Regions from separate parts of the Homo sapiens genome. Here region 2 is linked to region 1. Evidence: promoter capture Hi-C in human tissues and cell types (Jung and others, 2019). All regions are on one chromosome and are shown on one strand. The core of a region is centred on a gene start or on the middle of the fragment in contact, and the rest is flanking DNA. Distances in the headings are between cores, read along the strand shown. Region 1 holds the start of NIPAL2 (NIPA like domain containing 2). Region 2 has its middle 14 kb from the start of COX6C.

Region 1 (3,691 bases), core at 1-2,500:
CTTGAAAACTAATAAAGTGAACATGCTTATTTATCTTACTTATTCTTTATACAAATATATTCTCTTCTGCATTCAGAAATTAATATTTAGAACACTTCAGGCATAAAAGGAATCCAGATCTTTGATAATTGGTTAAACTCTCCGATTTAGGACAACAGCAACAAATATTTTCTGATTATATTGTTGCAAAAATAAAAGTATCCATGGTTTTGTTAAAGAACAAGAACAAAGTAACACATTTAATGAAAACAGGAGGAAGCCTGGAATCCACCGTGATAAAACTTAGTTGCAATATGAACGCTGCTAGAGGAAGGGCTGGCCAGAACACTTCCTCATCTTAAACCAAGCCAAAAATAAATGGGCGGCTCCAAGTCCCTTTGATTTTGTTAAATGTATATTTCCAGTGTAAACTGGCGTTGTTTAAGTTAACAAAGTTTTCCCAAAGGGCCGGTGGGAAAGAATGAGAGTCCTGCAAATGCAACCTGAGAAAATGTGTTCCTCGCACGGAAATGGAAGAGCTGTGTTGAGATACCAGGGACACACGCAGGGCATCTGCGCGAGGTGACATTAGGCTGCCCTTAATGAGTTTTCTGCTTCTGATAACAGGGTGTCACTTTTTTCTTTTCTTTTAACTGTAAAAGGATCCTGGGGTGAAAATGAGTGAATTGCCCCCACACTCCTAGATTCCTTCCGGGAGAAGAGGGCGGACGCAGGCTGGGGAGGCGGGATCGGGACCCGGAGGTCCCAGGAACGGGTGGCTGAGGTCAAGGCCGAAGACCTGGGCGCCCACTCCCAGTGCCGGGTGCCCGGGAGAGGAAGACTGGGCGGACCCCCGCGCTTCCGGATGAGGCGGACTTAGGTCAATGCGGGAAACATTGCATGTCACCTCTTCCCACTCGGAGAGGCCGGGTGTCTTCCTGAGAGCTGGCAGGAAAGCGGCCGAGGCGCAGAGGCGCCCGGAGCCAGCCGCCCTGGCCGCGTCCCCACCGGGCTGCGGTGGCTGCGGGGCGGCCCTTACCTGGTTCCTGCGGTACCAGTCGCCCGAGAGGGAGCCGTTGCCGGCGCCTGGTGCCCCGTACGTGAAATTCAGTGACAGCTCGTCCAGGGCGGCCGAGGCGGAGTCCCCGGGGCCCGCGGGCGCCACCGCTGCCATGAGGTCTCGCTCCCGGCGCTCGGGCTCCGGCTCGGGCTGCGGCCGCCTCCCCGCCCTGTTGCACCGCGAGGAGGCCGCGCCGCAGCCACTTCCTGCTCGGTGCCCGGGCGAGGCGGGCGCGCCGAGGCCACCTGGCTCCCGCCCCCGCGCGGCCGTAGGTGCTCCCAGCCTGGCCGGGCGCTGCCTCCTCTCCTCCTCCGGTGCGAGGTGTCCTCGGGGAGCCCGGCGGTCTGCGGCCTCCCGGGGCCGTCCAGCTCGCACCGCGCCCTCCTTCCGCTGGGCCAGTGTCTGCATCCTCGGGGCCGCACTGCCCAAGGGGGCAATCCCCGCGGCCGTCCGCAACGGGTCCCCGCGCCTGTCGGGGCCAGAATCAGATCATCTCCGTTGTAAACATTTGTCCAAGTCAATGGAAGAGGAGGAGACACTGACTAACCCAAAGCAGCTATCATCTCCCATCTCTACCTGGCAATTCCAGTCCTCTATCACATATGTAGTGTTTCTCACCGATATTTTAAAAATTGATTGCATATGAAAAAGTCATGAGTTCCCAGAAATATTGTAAGCAATATGAGAAAAAAAGATCCGAGCGATTGAATCTCAGTGCCAGTGCTTGATAGATCCTTAGTAAATATTCCTTGAATGAGGAATGTGGTAGCCATAGGACCCCAGTGTGCGATGACTGGATTGGGTTTGCTTCAGATGGGATCAGGTGGAGTTGCTGAAAAGTTGCCAGCTACTGTATATATGAATTTAGGATGAAAGATAAATGTTGTTATTAATCTTAAGAACTCTAACGAGATGTTCTGGTTTTACCTGTATTCAAATTCTAATGTGTGACCACAAATGATCTGTAGGGTATTTCTCACTTTAAAAAAACCATGATTCTATACTGTTGCCTGAAGGCTGATAGTTGCCTTCTTTTGTTTACACAATGCTGAGGTTTTTCTTAGATAATGTGCTTTGACTTCCATGAGTTCATGAAAGAGAGACCTTCAAGAAAAGAGAATTGCTGCCTAGAAGGGAGCAGGGACAGTTTTCAGTGTTTCTTAGGGGAAATGTGCAAATGAGAGAAAAGAGTGAGAAAAAGTCATTTCACATACAGAAAAAACAAGACATGTCGTCTCAGAAATTGTGTAGTTTCTTGCTTAAGCACTCGAGATGTTCAGTGAACAGCTAACAATTGTAGGTAACTATTCCCAATTTTAAGAGGCTGATTTACTTCAAATAAATATCTGAAGGAAAAAGGTCTCTATTTGTTATATTACATTTTATTTTATTTTTTGAGACAGGGTCTTGCTCTGTTGCCCAGGCTGGAGTGCAGTGGTGTGATCTTGACTCACTTTAGCCTCATATTCCTGGGCCCAAGTGATCCTCCCACCTGGGACTACATACAGGTGCATGCCACCATGCCCAGCTAATTTTTTTTTTTTTTAGATAGAGTCTCTCTCTCTTGCCCAGGCTGCAGTGCAGTGGCACAATCTCAGCTCACTGCAACCTCTGCCTCCTGGGTTCAAACAATGCTCCTGCCTCAGCCTCCTGAGTAGCTGGGACTACACGTGCACACCACCAAGCCCGGCTAATTTTTGTATTTTTAGTAGAGACAGGGTTTCACGGTGTTGGTCAGGCTGGCCTCAAGCTCCTAACCTCCAGTGATCCCCCTGTCTTGGCCTCCCAAAGTGCTGGGATTACAGGTGTGAGCCACCACACCTGGCCCTGGCTAATATTTTTCTATTTTTTTGTAGGGACAGGGTCTCGCAATTTTTCCTAGGCTGGTCTAGAACTCCTGGCCTCAAACAGTTGTCCCACCTCGGCCTCCCAAAGTGGTGGGATTACAGGTGTGAGCTGCCATGCCTTGTCTGATAAGTTTTCTATAACATCACATTCATTGATATTGGTGACTTCATTAATGCTTCTTTCTCTTCACATGCTTTAGGGTGCAAGTAACAGAGTATCCAAATAAAAGTGGCTTAAACAATAATTATCTGCTATCTCCAGAGGAATGTGTCTCTATGTGGTTCTATTATGTCGTCACTTCCACCTTTCTGCTCTGCTATCCCTGAGGTACTGGTCTTGTCCATTGAGGGAGGAAAGCCTTTTCCAGAATCCTCCTGGCATCCTTTCACCTCAGATCCCATTGGCTGGGACTGGGTCACATGCCCATGTTCTACCAGCAAGGGAGGCTGGGAAAGTGATTCTTGGGTATTTCCAACCTAGTGAGAGGTAAGCTCTACCAACCAGGATGAGTGGGAATGCCATGGGGTTATGGGGGAGGGGAACCAGTCAACCCTGGTACAACCACTCTAGTATTTTTCTATCAGCCAGATTGTAAGTAGTTGTACAGTTGCTAACAAGCAAAATACTAAATGGATTGTGTTACTTTCTGGTTTAAAATGCCTTGAAGCCTCCCTATTGCCATAATGAAGTCCACACTTTTTTTTTTTTTGAGACAGAGTCTTGCTCTGTCACCCAGGCTGGAGTGCAGTGGCACAATCTCGGCTCACTGCAAGCTCCGCCTCCCGAGTTCACGCCATTCTCCTG
Region 2 (5,864 bases), core at 2,220-4,719, 1.6 Mb after region 1:
TATACACAGAGATGACCTGGCCTGATAATGGCCTTTATGAAATGAAGCTGTTAAATGAAAGAGTCACGTTAAACTCAGCTGCATTTTGAATACAGAGACAGCAAAAAATTTAAGTTTACTAGATGAGAAAAAAAAAAAAACAAGAGGAGCGGGAAATACCTATTTTAACTTCTAAGAGGATACAGCAAAGTCAAAAGATACAAATTATCATTCTAAGATAGGACACTTGATAATGACTTTTAAAATGATTTTTTTTAAAAAAGGATGTCTTAGCAGTTTCTTTGGAATTCCACTTTGAACTTATGTTTATTTTAATTTATGGATGTGGTGAACTAGTCAAATTCAACAAACATGGATATCTTTAGCTTCCACATGCTCTTCTGAGTAAACAGTAGCTGTGTTGACAGCAGGACACAGTCGTTAGAATATTGTATGGTCACCCTGACACTGCCACATTTAAAATCTGGAGGTGTAGGGCATAGTGGCTCATGCCTGTAATCTCAGCACTTTGAGAGGCTCAGGCAGTAGGGTCACTTGAGGCCAAAATTTCAAGACCAGCCTGGGCAACATAGCAAGACCCTGTCTCTACAAAATAATAAAAAATGAGCCAGGCATGGTGGCATGCACCTGTATCCCCAGCTACTCAGGAGGCTGAGACGGGAGGATCGCTCAAGCCCAGGAGGTTGAGGTTAGACTGATCCATGATCATGCCACTGCACTCCAGCTTGGGTGTCAGATTGAGACACTGCCACTTAAAAAAAATAGAAATACACATTGAAATATTTACCAATCAAATGGTATGATGATGATTTGCTTCAAAATAATACAAGTGGGGTAGGCAGGTGGGCAGATGGGAGTGGAAGGTGTTGATCATAGGCAAATAAAACCTAGGTCACCAACTTTCTCTTTTCTTTTCTTTTCCTTTTTTTTTTTTTTTTAAATAGAAACAGGGTCTTGCCATGTTGTCCAAGCTGATCTCAGGCTCAAGCTCCTGTCTTGGCCTCCCAGAGTTCTAGGATTACAGGTGTGAGCCACAACTTTTTTTTTTTATAAAGGGCCAGATAGTAGCTGTGGGCTGGGGTCTCAAACTGTGTTGCCCACTACTCAACTCTGCCATTGTAATGTGAAAGTAGTCACAGACAAAATATAAAGAAATGAGTGTGACTGTGTTCCAATAAAACTTTATTTACAAAAGCATTCAGTGGGCTGGATTTGGCTTTTGGGCCATAATTAAATCCCCTCTGGTAAAATAATCACTATTTTAGCTGGATCATGAGTACGTGGGAGTACATGAGTACTATAAACTTCTGTCCACTTTTGCATATACAAGAAGTTTGATACTTTCCATTTAAAACAATAGAATGTTTTGAGCATTATTTGCAAGCCTCAGACCAATCCTCAGCCTTCTTGGCATTCTTACAAGTGAGTATTCTTGCTATATCCAACTTGGGTCATATAGCTTTCATTTCCTCTTTTGTATATAGGCCTTCCTTCCTTCCTTCCTTCCTTCCTTTCCTTCCTTCCCTTCTTTCTTTCTTTTCTTTCTTTCTTTCTTTCTCTTTCTTTCTTTTTTCTTTCTTTCTTTCTTTCTTTCTTTCTTTCTCTCTCTCTTTCTTTCTTTCTCTCTCTCTTTCCTTCTTTCTTTTCTTTCTTTCTTTCTTTCTTTCTTTCTCTCTCTCTCTCTTTCTTTCTTTCGAGACAAAGTCTTGCTGTGTCGCCCAGGCGACAGTGGCACAATCTTGGCTCACTGCAACCTCTGCCTCCCGGGTTCAAGCGATTCTTCTGCCTCAGCCTCCCGAGTAGCTGGGACTACAGGCACGTGCCACCATACCTGGCTAATTTTTGTATTTTTAGTAGAGATGGGGTTTCACCATATTGGCCAGGCTGGTCTCGAACTCCTGACCTTATGATCCACCCACCTTGGCCTCCCAAAGTGCTGTGATTACAGGCGTGAGCCACCGTGCCCAGCCATATATAGGCTTTTCAACCAAACTCACTCCCTGAGCAACCACATTAATTTTGTTTTGGTGTTCCTGTTTTCTTCCATGTTGAGATTATCCAGAATTATATTTTAATTTTCATTTTTTCCTTTCATTATATTTTCACTTTTAGGTCTTCTCATTCCTCTTAAGCCATTCCATTTTAAGTGGAATCAGACCATATCTAGCTTTTCTCTAAATAATTTAAGAAACACAAATATTCTGTTTTCTTTTAGTCTCAGGTGCCCATTCTACAAATGTTTACTGAGGCTACTATATGCCAGACTTTGTGGTAGTTTCTGTGGAAGTAAGTATGAACGTAGCTCAGTTCCAAACTCTAGAGAGCTCCCAGAGTCCTACAGAGCCCCTGTTTCTCACCTGAACAACAAACACTGTCCTCCAAGCTTCCTGTATCTTTAATATCATCAGCTATTCCCATTATTGGTAGCATTAAGCTCAGTGGATCAATTACCTGTGCTATCCCCCTCTGCCTTCTAGAGAGAGAGATTGACTCAAGACAAGTAAAGATGGGTGCACCCCCAGGAGAGAGTTCTAGGGTGCCCGAAGCCTAACCTAGAGTTTTGTAAGCTTCAATTATTTGCACATCCCTATACTATTATGTACTTAATATTTTTCTTTAGATTGACTCATTTAAAAAAATATACAGCCATCAAAATTTTGGGACACTAACTTGGGATTTCCCAAAGTTTCTATCTCCACCATTCACCTGAGAGGAAGAGCTTTCTATGCATGCACACTATGCTCAAGGGTGATCAACTTGTTGAAGTGATTTAAACCACACAGCAGGCAAATAGTCTTCAAAGCCATGTCTTTTGATTTATCTTTTTTTTTTTTTTTTTTTTTTTTTTTAAGATGGGGCCTCACTATATTGCCCAGCCTGGTCTCAAACTCCTGGACTCAAGTGACCCTCCCATCTCGGCCTCCCGAAGTGCTGGATTACAGGCATGAGCCACCGACCCAACCTGATTTATCTTTTTGAGGAAAGAGAAAATTTTTCTTTTCTTTTTAAGGAAAGGGAAGCGTCTATCAGAAAGCAGGATTATAAAAACAGGATAAGCAATATGTCCAAAATATACATGATTCTCTGCTCAAAGGGAAATAAAATTAGATGAGAGGAGAAGGAGCAGGGAAGAGGTAGCTGGAGCTTGATGCTTCATCAGTGGCAGAGAGGGGGTTCAGGCCAATTCTCGCAAGTGCTGCAGAGCAGTGCTTCTTAAACATTAACGTCATGCAGATTCTGACTCAGCAGGTCTGGGGTGAGGCCTGAGAGTCTAAATTTCTATCAAGTTCCAAAGTGATACTGATGTTGCTGATCCACAGACCACATTTTGAATAGCAAGGCTATAGAACAGCCTAAAAGTTCCCATGTTCTCCCCCAGGCAGATGGGTTCTGAGATTGAGCTGTGGACCTTACAAAGCCAGAAGGCAGGTGAGAAGGGAAAAAAATAGACTTCAGGAGCCAATGCTCAGGCATAGTATGAAGGACTCAGGAAACTGCACCCTGTGAAGGAACAGAGGAGACCTGGCACCCTGTTTTTCCCTGACAACAGAGTAAGAATCAGTCAGTCCAGAGAGAAGAGAAGGAGGAGGGGGCATAATTCTAACAAGGATTCTGATCTGACCCCAGAAAAGATCCAATTTTAAATCAGGATTGACTGAATTTAGTCATACTTTCTGTTGCTGAAGAAGAAATAGGGCACAAGAACTAACCTGAGTTCAGTTATAGAGAAATAAAATTACAACTTTTGCACATGGGAGCACATTGTATAAAGTTCATACCTACTAACATTTTTGTTTGAAAGATTTATTATATATAAATGACATACACCAAATTATACATTTTAAAATAATTTTTAAAATAAATTTTGTATAAAATTTATATCATAGCGGAACTTATGTCAGGATCACTTGAAAACCAAATAATATTTTTCTTTTTTTGAGACAGTATCTTACTCTGTCACCCAGGCTGTAGTGCAGTGGCATGATCTTGGCTCACTGCAATCTCTGCTTACCAGATTCAGGCGATTCTCCCATCTCAGCATCCCAAGTAGCTTGGACCACAGGTGTGCACCATCACACCCAGCTACTCTTTTTTGTATTTTTTGTAGAGATAAGGTTTCACCATGTTGCCCAGGATGATCTCAAACTCCTGGACTCAAGCGATTTACCTGTCTCAGCCTCCCAAAGTGCTGGAATTACAGGCATGAGCCACTGTGCCAGGCCAAAAACCAAATAATTTTATTAATATCTAGTTGAAGGCTCTGAGCTCGACTTTATAAAAAAAAAAGTTAGGCCAGGCATGGTGGCTCACGCCTGTAATCCCAGAACTTTGGGAGGCTAAGCTGGGAGGATTGGTTGAACCCAGGAGTTCAAGACCAGCCTGGGCAACATATTGAAACCCTATCTCTACAAAAAGAAAAAGAAAATTAGCCAGGCGTGGTGGTGCACGCCTGTGGTCCCAACTACTGGGGAGGCTGAGGTGGGAGGATCACTTGGGCCCAGGTGGCTGAGGCTGCAGTGAGCCGCAATCTCACCACTGCACTCCAGCCTGGAGTTTTGTTGTTGTTGTTTTCTCAAAAAACAGTTAAAAAAAAAATTAGAGCCTTTCCACTTAGTCTAGTCTGGTCTAGTCAGATTGATTGAAAGAGTACCAAAAAGGCATTAACTTTTTCATTATATCATTCAACATGTTCAATTTGGAAAATTGCAAATATGTGCCAAGTTGACACACTGGTATGATGAAAGGCCCCATCACTCAGCAGCAGCAACAGTCAAACCATGAAGCATCTTGTTTTCATCCCAATCCCCCAGCCCCTCCCCTCACTGATCACTTTGAAGCAAATCTCAGATATTACATAATTTCATTGGTAAATATTTCGTTATATATTCTAAAAGATATTGTCTAGTATATCATTATCATACCTGAAACAATGATATCTCTTGGTGTCATCAAATATCCAATGTTCAAATTTCCAAGTGTCTTTTTTTTAACTGCTTGAATCAGGATCCAAATAAGGGCCATGCATTGTAATTGGTTGATATGTCTTCTAATTTACTGGTTTTCCCTCTATCTCTTTTTTTCCTCTTGCAATTTTTGTGATTTAAAAAAATGCAGTGCCCATGTACCACTTAAAATCATATTGCAGTGAAAGGTGTCCCACACCCCAGAGAACACTGACTATCCATAGTAACACATTGTGTTATATATAACATATGTATGTGTTGTATATAACACATATATATGTTGAAGACCAGCCTGGGCAACATAGTGAGTCCCTATCTCTACAAAAATAAAAAGAAAATTAGCCACACATATATATGTGTTATATATAACTTGCATATTATATATTCATTTATTATATATACATATATATTATATGTATGTGTGATACGTAACACATGCATATAATCTATAATATATGTATTATATGTACATACATATAATATATATGCATTATATATACATAACACATACACATAATATATGTATTATACATATAACACATATATATAGTGATATATATATATATATATATATATAGTGTTATATATAACACATAGTAGCACATTGTGTTATGTATAACACAATCTGTCCATAGTAACACAATCTGTCCATAGTAACACACTGAAGTTCCTGGCACTCATAAGTATTTGTTGAAGGAAAGAAAGGGAAAGGAAGAAGGGAGGGAGGGTTGGGAAGAAGCAAGAGCAAGAATGAATAATCCCCCACCCACCCGAGGCTGAAGGCGGGCACACCAGTGACTCCTAGGTCACTCTTCCTGCACAACTGTCCATTTTCTTTCCAGAATAAGTTTGTCAATGCTATCTCATTGCCTGTAGGGTCAAGTCCTGAGTCCCCAGAGG

The links. The method cuts DNA at HindIII sites, captures the fragments that hold promoters and counts their contacts. A contact is called where the count stands out against the background at its distance.
Region 2: a contact is called between a fragment that was not itself captured here and the fragment with the promoter of NIPAL2 in region 1, in 1 of the 25 tissues and cell types used here (mesenchymal stem cells).

Annotation. Positions count from the first base shown.
Region 1 is chr8:98,292,985-98,296,675 of GRCh38, forward strand. NIPAL2 (NIPA like domain containing 2) reads right to left here and starts at 1,251. Exons shown (of 11, transcript NM_001321635.2): 1 at 1,019-1,251. The coding sequence starts at 1,153. All of the region lies in intron 5 of LOC105375659 (a long non-coding RNA gene), which reads left to right. RefSeq lists a silencer at 771-1,490. The HindIII fragment of the contact is 9,267 bases long and covers 1-3,691 here.
Region 2 is chr8:99,905,192-99,911,055 of GRCh38, forward strand. No RefSeq gene overlaps it. Among named protein-coding and RNA genes, the nearest start is that of COX6C, 14 kb to the left of the region's middle. RefSeq lists a silencer at 3,117-3,317. The HindIII fragment of the contact is 5,482 bases long and covers 729-5,864 here.